Regions from separate parts of the Homo sapiens genome. Here region 1 is linked to region 2. The links are contacts of gene promoters, found by promoter capture Hi-C in blood cells and fetal thymus (Javierre and others, 2016). All regions are on one chromosome and are shown on one strand. The core of a region is centred on a gene start or on the middle of the fragment in contact, and the rest is flanking DNA. Distances in the headings are between cores, read along the strand shown. Region 1 holds the start of SRA1 (steroid receptor RNA activator 1). Region 2 holds the start of DIAPH1 (diaphanous related formin 1).

Region 1 (5,385 bases), core at 1,509-4,008, 1.1 Mb after region 2:
CTTCAGAGATCACAAACCTGGGCTGATTCTGGTTCATTAATGTTTTGGCCCTCATGTTGTTTTTAGTAAGTTTTAATTAGTTGCCAATATTTAAAGGCCAGGACATTTCACATAATAATCGCTATTCTTGTTTTTCTTAAAATATCAAGAGCTCTGGCACTCAGTTCACACGTGTAAGTGTCAGCATGCAGCCAGAGTTGTGCAGAAGCTGTGCCCTAAAGAGTTGGCATTGTTCCTGTTTGTCTCATTTAGGTTTATTTCCTGGCATCTGTGGGCATTTGAGTGTGGGTTGCTTATACTTCGTTAGTTCAGTTTGCCCATTCATTCAACAAATATGGGTGCCTACAGGGTCCCAGACACCATAGCTGACCCTGAGAATTTAGTGCTGTAGAGGGCACAGCCCTTGCCTTCACAAAACACTTAGGATAGAGCCAAGATAGACCAGAAATAAGTTGTACACCACTGGTTGATGGAAGAGGTGGCCCCTTTAGGGGTCAGGAAGGCTACCTGTAAGAGGTGATAGAAATCCGACAGTCCAAGAGGGAAGTTAGCCAGGTGAAGGGGAGTGGGGCAGGTGTACCAAGCACAGGGAACCTTAGCTGTGAAGGTGAGAGATATTAGTGGATGAGAGTATCTGAAAGAATCTAGTGTATCTGGCATGCAAGGGGGACGTAGTGAGAGGTGAGATCAGAGAGAATGACAGAAGCCAGGTTTGGGGGACCTCATAGGTCAGGGTGATGAGTTTATCTGGAGGCACTAGGAAGCACTGGAGCCCGAGAGTGAAGTCAGGGTTATGGATTAGGATGACCACTTAAGCTATAGTATGGGTAAAAGATTTGGAGGACGTAATAGGAGGTAGGAAGGCCAATTAGGACACCTTTGAGCTGTTCAGATGAGATGACTGGGAGCAGTTGCATTGGGGCTGGAGTTTGAGTTGTACACCTTTACCCTTGACTAGGGAATCTGCTTTGCCAGGGACTAGTCCCCACCAGTGAGAGATGGAAAAGAGGCAACATAGTGGTACATGTAATTAAGAGTTTAGGCTCTGCAATCAGAGAGAACTAGGTTTGAATGCCATTTCTGCCTTTCTCTGGCTGTGTGACCTTGGGCAAGTCATATACTCTCTGAATCTCAATTTCCTCTTTTGCAAAACAGGGATAATAACCCCTCATAAATAACTGAATTATACAAAGCACTTAGCAGTGTCCAGCCTGCCCTCCTTAAGTGTCTGATACATGTTTTATGATTTTGTTATTGAGCTACCTGGGAATGCTCTAGAAACTCCACATGTGGCTGACTACCAACCTTGTTATCAGACAGAAGCTTTGGCCAGTTCCCTGTCCTGCAGAAGCTTTCAGGGAGTCTAGAGGCAGAAAGTAGCTGGATCCTCACATTCCCCTTCTCCCTAGGTTCAGTACCAGAAGTGTCTTGTGGCCTCTGCAGCTCGAGGCAAGGCCTGGGGTGCCCAGGCCCGTGCCCGCCTGCGGCTCAAGCGGACCAGCTCCATGGATTCCCCAGGAGGTCCCCTGCCCCTCCCCCTGCTCAAAGGAGGGGTTGGCGGTGCAGGGGCAACCCCTCGAAAGCGGGGTGTCTTCTCTTTTCTTGATGCCTTCCGGCTGAAACCCTCTCTGCTCCATATGCCCTAAACTTATCTGGGAAGGCTGGGGAAGTAGGCTCTGGGTCCATGCCTAACTCTGTACCGTTTTATTCCTCAAGGCCTATAGCCTGTCACTCCTTGAAGCCTTCTCTGCCTGTCCCTCCGATCCTTGTCCACCGTCTATTTATTGCCCAATTTATTGTTTATACGGATGACTGGGAGGCACTGCACCACAACGTAGGACCCTGGCTCCCCTTTCCTTGGGTCCTTGTGTTCCTTGCCCCTGTCCAACCCTGGACAGTTGGCTCTACCTCAGTAACACTTTATAGCAAAATCAGTGCAAATAAAAATCCCTCAGTGACCTCACTGGATGTGAGTATATTGGGCCTGGGACAGGGCTGGGGGCTAACACCCTGTGTGAGATGAGTGTCTTTGTGTCTGTGCTTGATGTTGGTGGCTCTCTGTAGTCACATGACAGCATGGGTGTGATGGAGATCTGACTTCATTCAACAAACATATTTTCTAAGGAGTTCCCTGTGCCAGGCACTAAGCTGGGCACTGGGAATGTAATAAAATAGTCAAGGTCCCACCTTCTAAGACTGTCCGACAGGGAAACGAACAAGAGTCAAATAAGGCAGAAGATGTGATGTAATACACCTACGAAATCTCAGAGGGTTGTAGGGTCGTGGGAGCTCAAGTGAGACACTTAACCTGGCCTGAGACATTCCAGAAGGCCTCCTGAAGAACTGACATCTGAACTGAGAACTGAAGGAAGATGAGTACTAGTGAGGCTACCGGACGTGAATGTGGAGATTGTGCAGGGCAATGCAAGAGGAGGCTGTAGAAGTCAACCTGGCTAGATCACAGCGGGGTGTATGTGGGGCAGGAGCTTCTTTGTTTGAATTTGCTCCTGAGAGGATGAGGCCTCCTAGAGCACTGGCTCCTGGACAGCAACCTCCTTTGGTGCCTTGTGACCAGGGCCCTGATGGTTCATTAGATGGAGCCTTCGAGTCTTAGGGAGTTGCCGCAGGGTCCCCACAGCGGCTCCCGACGGTTGTGAACCAGCATCCATCCTCCACGGATTCCGGCAACCCGCCTGGCCCTGGACGTGTCTCAACTGGCCCGCGTGAGGGGCCGCCCCGGAAATGACGCGCTGCCCCGCTGGCCAAGCGGAAGTGGAGATGGCGGAGCTGTACGTGAAGCCGGGTGAGCGCAGCCGGCGGGCTAGGGCACTAGGTTGTCGCCCCGGCCTAGGCTGGGGGCGGTTGCGGCGCTTAGTATGGACCCTCTGTCTCCCCCAGCCCCAGTATAAGCTAACAGTGGAGTTCCGGGCTCGCTTCACACATCCCTCGCCTCCGCAGGCAACAAGGAACGCGGCTGGAACGACCCGCCGCAGTTCTCATACGGGCTGCAGACCCAGGCCGGCGGACCCAGGCGCTCGCTGCTTACCAAGAGGGTCGCCGCACCCCAGGATGGATCCCCCAGAGGTGCGTGGGGCCCCTGTGCTCGGAGACAGACGGAGAATGGGGGGGGGGGGGTGTAAGGCATAAGCCTGTTTGGAAGGCTTTTTTCTCTCCCCGAGGGCTCCTTAAGGAGAGAAGTTTTGGGGCTCCAGTAAGGGTCTCAGAGCAGGTGCTTTTCCGAGCCCCTTCTCTGCTGCTCAGGTTAATAAATGGTGTATTGATTTAAAAAGACTATTTTTTCATCCTAGATGATCTTATCCAGACCTGTGGCTTTTAATATAGTTTTAATCCTGAAGTTATTTTTCTTTGTTAACCTATACCTCTTGCCAGAACCGTATAGTGGCATATTCATTTGTCCATTCTGTCTTCACTTAGGTATATGATAATCGTCAGACTTCACAGTTTTTCATTCATTTAATCACTGTTATTTACTGAGCACTTCTATAAGTCAGGCACTGTTTGAGGGCGAACTAGACAGCAGTGAGAAAAAAAAAAAAAAGATCTCTGCTTTCAGGAAGTCCACGTTGCAGCACTGGAGATGGGCTGAAAGATGAAATAGTGGTGAGGGTGCTACAGAAAATAAGCGGTGATGTAATATGACTGGGTAACGAGGTGTCTGAGGGGCTGACATTTAAGCCACACAAAGATCATGTACAAAAGCATTCCAAGCAAAAGAAACAGCTGCAAAAGGAATAAGTTTGGCCAATTCAGAGACTGATGAAATACAGAGTGGCTGGCTACAGCATAGTGGGCTTTGTAAAGCAGGATGAGGAATTTGTATTTTAATCTACATAAAGTTAGAAGCCATTGAAAAGTTTAAAGTAGAGGAGAGCCACCTTTCCCCCCGAGAATTTTCCAAGCCATTAAATGGGCTGTGCCGTGGCCCCCATAAAGGGGCTCAGGTTTGGTTCTTTCAGTGGCCCTCCATTCTCCACACCCTTTTTGCTGTAGAAGAATGATACAAGGCTTGGTTTCTTAAACTCAGCAGTATTGATAGGTTGTGGCCAGATAATTCTTTGTGAGGGACTTTCCTGTGTCTTATGTTAATCAGCAACTCTGACTTCTACCCAAAAGATGTCAGTAGCATCCACCCAGTTGTGATAGCCAAAAGTGTTTCCAGACATTTGCCCTGTGGGCACTATCTTCCTAGCTTGAGAACCAGGGACTGATTTACATTTTGGAAAGATCACTGTGTCTGCTGTGTGAAAACAAGATTTTAGGGAAGTGGAAAGACAAATTACAGCTATTATGGTAATATAGGCAAGATTTAATGATTTGCATAAGGGTGGGAGTCAGGGTGGTAGGAGTTGGATGGATATGAGATGGAGAAGGTCAGTAGGAATGAGTAGATTAGGAAGAATCCATATAACTGAATTTTTTTGCTTGATATAGGAAGACTGGGGATGGTGGTTTTGGGGAGGGGGAGTTTTTTTGGGGGGCCATGTGAAGTTTAGGCTGTTACTTTTGGGGAATGTTCTAGGCCAGAATTAGAGAAATAAGTCACCATTACAAGGATGGTATTTGATGTCATGGGCTTGAATATGGCCAGGGACAGAGCCGTAGGGCACTCTAGCATTTCAAGGTTGAGAAGGAATCAGCAAAGGAGATTGGGAAATGGCCAAAGAAGAAAAAAGGAGAGGCCAGGCGCAGTGAGTCACGGCTGTAATCCCAGCACATGGGGAGGCCAAGGTGGGCAGATCACCTGAGATCAGAAGTTCAAGACCAGCCTGGCCAACATGGCGAAACGCTGTCTCTACTAAAAATACAAAAATTAGCTGGGCCTGTAATACCAGCTACTTGGGAGGGTGAGACAGGAGAATCGCTTGAACCTGGGAGGCGGAGGTTGCAGTGAGCCGACATCGCACCACTGCACTCCAGCCTGGGCGACAGAGTGATATTCTGTGACAAAACCAAAATAAAAAAAGAAAATAGGAGAGCGTAAAGACATGAATCAATAGTAATGAATGCTGCTGAGACATCAAGATAGAGACAAGGGGCCAGGCGCAGTGGCTCACGCCTGTAATTCCAGCACTTTGGAGGCCAAGGCGGGTGGATCACGAGGTCAGGAGTTCAAGACCAGCCTGGCCAACGTGGTAAAACCCTGTCTCTACTAAAAATACAAAAAATAGCCAGGTGTAGTGGCGGGCACCTGAAATCCCAGCTACTCGGGAGGCTGAGGCAGGAGAATCATTTGAACCTGGGAGGTGGAGCCTGCAGTGAGCCGAGATCGCACCATTGCACTCCAGCCTGGGACTCCATCTCAATAAAAAAAAAAAGAGCGACAAGGAACCAGTAGATTTGACAAACATAGCAGTCACTCGTGAT
Region 2 (5,622 bases), core at 846-3,345:
CCCTGGGTTCTGACTTCTTCCTCCCCTTGCTTCCAGGGAAGATGAAGAGAGAGAGATTTGGAAGGGGCTCTGGCTCCCTAACACCTGAATCCCAGATGATGGGAAGTATGTTTTCAAGTGTGGGGAGGATATGAAAATGTTCTGTTCTCACTTTTGGCTTTATGTCCATTTTACCACTGTTTTTATCCAATAAACTAAGTCGGTATTTTTTGTACCTTTCGCCTTTCTAGGAATGTTAATTCTTGCTAGTTTCCTATTTATGAAAGGAGAGGGAAATGGGCATGATGATGCATGTAATAAAAGCATAGTTAACATTCATTCAGCACTTATCCTACGTTAGGCCCTGTGTATGTATTCTACATTTATTATTGTAAATATAAGAAGTTAATAGAGGATTTTGGTTAAGAGTTAGACAAACCTGGGCAGATTTGAGAGGAGTAGAAGATGACTTCAGGTTTTTGAATCTGGGTGTTTAGAGTAGTGATGCTAGTTGGTGAAGATACACTGAGATAAAACATGTTAAGTGCTTAGCACAGTGCCTGACAGAAGAAGTTGCCCATTATCTGTCTATGTGAAGAACAATGCTAAATACTGTAGTAGCCACAAACATGAACCTTTCTCTAGAAGAGTTTACATTCCAGTCAGTAGTATGATAAATATTGTAGCAGATACAGACTGATACAAGAAAGAGGACTGATAGATGGGTCACTTCCTCCCCTCCATTCTCTGATTCTGTCTGTTCTCAACACTAGCTTAGAAAGTAGCTTTTGGACTTTTTAGACAAAATGTCTGGAAAGCTCAGCACTAAGTCAAGTTTGAAGTATGGGATGGACAGCTCTATGTAACATTCTATCCGATCACCATCAGAAGGTCTGGACCACAAGAGAGATGAATGCCAAATTTAGGAGCCAGCCAGCTTGGCAGAGTCCCTGGTATATCTCAGGCCCTTGACTAGGTACTGGGGCTCTAGAGTAAGTAAGTCACTGACTCTGCCCTTCAGGAACTTATGCTTGAAATCTTGCTAGCTGTGGTCAAGAATATTCAGTCCATATTGTGAAGGCCGACTGGTAGCCACGTAACTGTCACACAAGGGACAGATGTAGCTGGGAGAATGGATGAAATTGCTTAGGGAGAAAGTCATGCTAGAAGAGCAAAGAATATACTCTTGGAGAATACTCATTCTTTTCACTCATGTTTGGTTTATGTCAGTGGGGAATCCTGGTTAAACATAGGGTTTGGCAGCAAATCAGACTAAGCTGGGTTTAAATTTTATATCAATTATGCGTTCTTGGGCAAGTCACTTCAACTCTCAAAAGTCCAAATTTACTATTTATAAAATGGTGAGGCTAGCAGAATCTATCACATGGGACTGTGGGGACTTAGAAAAATACATGTAGAGTGTTTGCCTAGTGCCTAGCAGAGAGCAAAGGGCATGGTTAAGTGGTAACTGTTATTGCTGTTTAGGCACATGTTGGCAATAATTAGTTTGTCCTGATTAGAAACAATTAGATGGTACCTAACCTGGAATTCGAACTAGGAAATTAAACTCCAGAGCGAGTCTGGTTTAGTCTAGTGCTTGCCCTGGACCGAGCTCTGTTCTTGCTACCTTGCTTTCAAAACATGGTGGCTATCACTATAATTTTTTTCATGTGTTCCATGGGTATTGCACACATTGAAAACTGCATTCTCTTGGAAAACCTGTCACTAATTTTCTGCCAGGATAATGGTCTCACGCGATTTTTGGTCTGGGATGTGAGAGGGTCCAGGCTGTCAGGCTGTACAGCCACGTGGGCGCTGCGTGGGAGCCAGAGGCCTGCGCTGCTCCAACCGCCAGGGGGCGGTGCTCTCCGCCGCGGCCGCGGAGAGCTGCACCGCCCACTCACCACCCCCCCCCACGTGGGTCCGAATGGTTAGGTCCGCTGGGCAGGTAGCGCGCTTCCGCGGCTTCCCTCCGCCCCTCTCCCTTCCCCCATTGGTAGGGGCTGCGGGTCCGGGCGGAAGTGGGGCAGGCGGGCGGGAGCGAGGCGTCGTCGTTGTATATTCATGAGGCGCGCGCAGCCCGGCATGCTAATGAGGCGGGGCGCGGCGGCTGGCTAAAGAGCGACTGGGCGGCGGCGGGCGCGGAGCTGCCAGGCGGGAGCGGCGTAGGCGCGGGGTCGCCGGCCAGCGTGAACCGGGACATGGAGCCGCCCGGCGGGAGCCTGGGGCCCGGCCGCGGGACCCGGGACAAGAAGAAGGGCCGGAGCCCAGATGAGCTGCCCTCGGCGGGCGGCGACGGCGGCAAATCTAAGAAATTTGTGAGTGTCCCTCCCATCCCGCTCCTGCCTGGCCCCGTAACCGCCCTCTGGACCCCTGCAGCCGGCCCCTGGGGCGCCTGCCCGGCTTTGGGGAGCCGCCCCCGCGCCTTCCTTCCTCGTTTCGCTCGGTCCGCAGCTCTGCAGCCCGACATCCTCTCCCTTCGGGACCTCGGGAAGCCCCGGAATCCCACCCGGCTCTTGCCCCGGCCACCTCGGGGCTTCCCTCGTTCCCCAGCCCTTACATTCTGCCCTCCCGCCCGCATATCCCCGGCCGGCTCTCAGCCCCGTCTCTCCCCTCTCAGCCTCACTTCCTTTCTTCTTCCTCCAGTACCCGAACACGCCTCCTCTTTTTTGGTCCCCTCTTCTGGGTCCATTTTCTCTTCTTAACCTTACACCTTTTTTGGTATTCTCGTATTTCCTTCTCCTAAAGGTCACTTCCTTCTCCATGATTCATCCTTTTTACCTGCTAACTTTCCTCCCGCCCAGTCCCCCGTGGGCCCTCCGCCCGGTGTCACTTGATAATCCTTCCCCTGAGGAATGTTACCTGACTTGAGCCCTACCCCCAACTCCTTCTTTGGACGTTTGTCCTTGCGATTACAGGAATGGGCTCCTGCCCAGGTCCTATGGTCACTGGGGCATGACGTTTATTTGTTTACCAGTATTCCTCTCTCCAGAGAACCTCTCTCTTTGCCCTGTTGCTTATCACTTTTCAGAGGATTAGAACTCTCATGATTGTGCCCTTCTTGACCTAGGATGGTGATAAACCTCTCCTGTGGGAAGAAAGTTGGACTGCGAGTTCAAGAAGTTTGTAATTGAATTGTTTTTTATACATTTCCCATGATAACCGTCTCCTCTACTCCTTTTCTACTGCCTCTTGTGCCCCAAGGCGACTATCGGCTTCCCTTTGCGTGCCTGTAGAAGAGTAAGCTTTCCTCAAGTGCCAGTTACTTTCAATCCGAGTGAAGGAATAGTGATATACATGTAACCCTATCATATTTCATTACCTTTTGCCCACACCAACGCCTCTCTCCAGGGAGCCGTTTGGTTGCTTTTTTGCTATAAAAGCTTTGTAAGATACGGGGCACTGTCCAGGAGAGGAAAAGTCTTGGATATTGATGATCATTATAATAGCTAGTTATAACTGTAGCTCTTTTGTCTTCTCTTCCAGGTATTTATGCCCTTACACTAGTGTATCTTTCTACTAAACAAATGGCTTGTAACTCTTAGTCCCACCTCCCAACATTTTGACCCAGCTCCACAAATTTGGGAAGAAAACTGATAAAGCGATGGAAACAGGAAGAAAATGTTGTTTTATGACCTAGAGGGTTGAGATGTTAACCCTGGAGGGTTAGATGTTTAATTCTAAATAGAATTAAAATAGTGACTCATCTCTTCCTATTTCTAGCAAGACCAAGTGCTCCTGGACTGCCCTTTCCAGTGATATCTGAGATGTCAGTAACCATCTGTTTTTATCTGGTGAACATCTTTTTTTCCCCCCCTAGAAATATAAGGTTAAGGGTATTGACACCCCCTCCTTCTTTGGTGACTAAAGCAGCATTTTTGTATGTTTCTTTAGGATAAGAATTGACCCCTCCCCCCCGTTAGCTTTCCTTCCAAAACTTAAGTTCTAGGGCTCATATTCCTTCTATTTCTGTATCTTTTTGTTTTGATTTTATTTCCATGAGTACTGTTTGACCTTCCTCACCCAAATTCCAGCTATTGCTGCTGACTTGTGGTGACCTCAGTGACTTGTTTTCATGTCTTGAGTAGAATTTTATATGTACTCTATTTTATCTAACAATTATTTCACGAACTTGTGAAGTCTACTATGTGTGTGGTACTGTAAGGTGAGAAACCTGAGGAAGCTCAACCCCTTTTCACCTGTCTTTTGGAATGTCCATGAAGTCTTCTATATGTTTAATGGATTTGGCTCAGGGTTGTAGGTATTTGCTTTAGAGAGGATGGAGCTGAACCAAGTTCTCTTTTCTTTCTGCGGTGTTAGTCTTAACCCTTAATCTGCTGAATTTTTAAAACTAAATAGCTCAGGTAATGAGGAAAATTGCATTAGTAGCTACGGAATTGGAAGGTTTCTAGGAAAGTAGTGCTGCTTAACCCTTTTATTGCCAAATGTAACCTATCTCAAGGCATCAGAATATTCTTTCTTCCTCTTGCTCCTTTTATGAGAACTCTGTGGAAATGAGAGATGAGGAGGAGCATTGCAATCCACTTCTCTTTGTGTCTGTGTATGTATACGTGGGTGGGTGGAGTGGGCGAGATTGCTGGTGTGCTTTTGATACCCGTGGCTTAGTTTTCTTGAACTATAGGCTAAAACTGAACTCAAAGGTCTTTCGCCGCCTCCACCTTTTCTAGAGTATGTGTCCTCTGGAACTCCATTAAGAATGTACTGTATAAAACTGCACTGGTTTGGACTAAGTGTGCCCGAAGGTTGTTTGCATTTGAGGGTTTATAATTCCTTTAGCTGCTACATACCTTTCCTGGCTTATGCAGGTTCTAAATACGGATTAACTGGTGAGAACACAGAGCTCACAAATTGTCTGAGATCTGCTCTTACCCTCTGAGGCATCTTGTGTGGAAAGGAGATGGACCCTCAGTTTAAAAGTGGTTGGGCATCATCTTTTAAAAACACATGATTGTTAGACGTGCTGACAGTGAGTGGCTGAAGCCAGGCTGCCTGGTATTACCCCTTGGTTCTTCATGAGTCTGTCTTCTCCTGGGCCATGAGCATACCCCTTCTCCGGCATTATTCCATTTCCTTTCACAAGTCCTTAAGATGAAGGAAAATAAAAATTTTAGGTGAACAGAGGGTTTTCTGACTTTTCAGCAGTGATCAATGTGGGTGTCAAATAGACTGATTTCCAAAATATACGTAAGGGGAATAAGTAGAACCGGGATGTTAGGAGGCTGCAGAGTATTCTTACATTTAATAGACTTTGTATGCACTCTCATATAATCGAGAAAGTGATGCATTGTAAGAGAGAATATTGCTTCCTGATTTAACTAGGAGCATTAGCGAGAATTTTTTTTTTCTTTTTTTGAGATGGAGTCTCGCTCTGTTGCCCAGGCTGGAGTGCAGTGGTGCAATCTCAGCTCACTGCAAGCTCCGCCTCCCGGGTTCATGCCATTCTTCTGCCTCAGCCTCCCCAGTAGCTGGGACTACAGGCACCTGCCACCACGCCTGGCTAATTTTTTTTGTATTTTTAGTAGAGACGGGGTTTCACCGTGTTAGCCAGGATGTTGTCGATCTCCTGACCTCGTGATCTGCCCACCTCGGCCTCCCAAAGTGCTGGGATTACAGGCGTGAGCC

What was found. The method cuts DNA at HindIII sites, captures the fragments that hold promoters and counts their contacts. A CHiCAGO score of 5 or more calls a contact.
Region 1: a contact is called between the fragment with the promoter of SRA1 here and the fragment with the promoter of DIAPH1 in region 2, in 2 of 17 cell types (neutrophils and non-activated CD4 T cells). The highest score is 7.6, in neutrophils.

Annotation. Positions count from the first base shown.
Region 1 is chr5:140,554,846-140,560,230 of GRCh38, reverse strand. SRA1 (steroid receptor RNA activator 1) reads left to right here and starts at 2,758. Exons shown (of 5, transcript NM_001035235.4): 1 at 2,758-2,803; 2 at 2,959-3,084. The coding sequence starts at 2,779. It overlaps APBB3 (amyloid beta precursor protein binding family B member 3), which reads left to right. Exons shown (of 13, transcript NM_133173.3): 13 at 1,410-1,963. The coding sequence ends at 1,646. RefSeq lists enhancers at 2,329-2,388, 2,479-2,838, 2,704-3,525 and a silencer at 4,049-4,198. The HindIII fragment of the contact is 6,646 bases long and covers 1,354-5,385 here.
Region 2 is chr5:141,615,473-141,621,094 of GRCh38, reverse strand. DIAPH1 (diaphanous related formin 1) reads left to right here and starts at 2,095. Exons shown (of 28, transcript NM_005219.5): 1 at 2,095-2,297. The coding sequence starts at 2,181. It overlaps HDAC3 (histone deacetylase 3), which reads left to right. Exons shown (of 15, transcript NM_003883.4): 15 at 1-214. RefSeq lists silencers at 1,741-2,400, 2,461-2,510, 2,321-2,517. The HindIII fragment of the contact is 3,913 bases long and covers 1-3,226 here.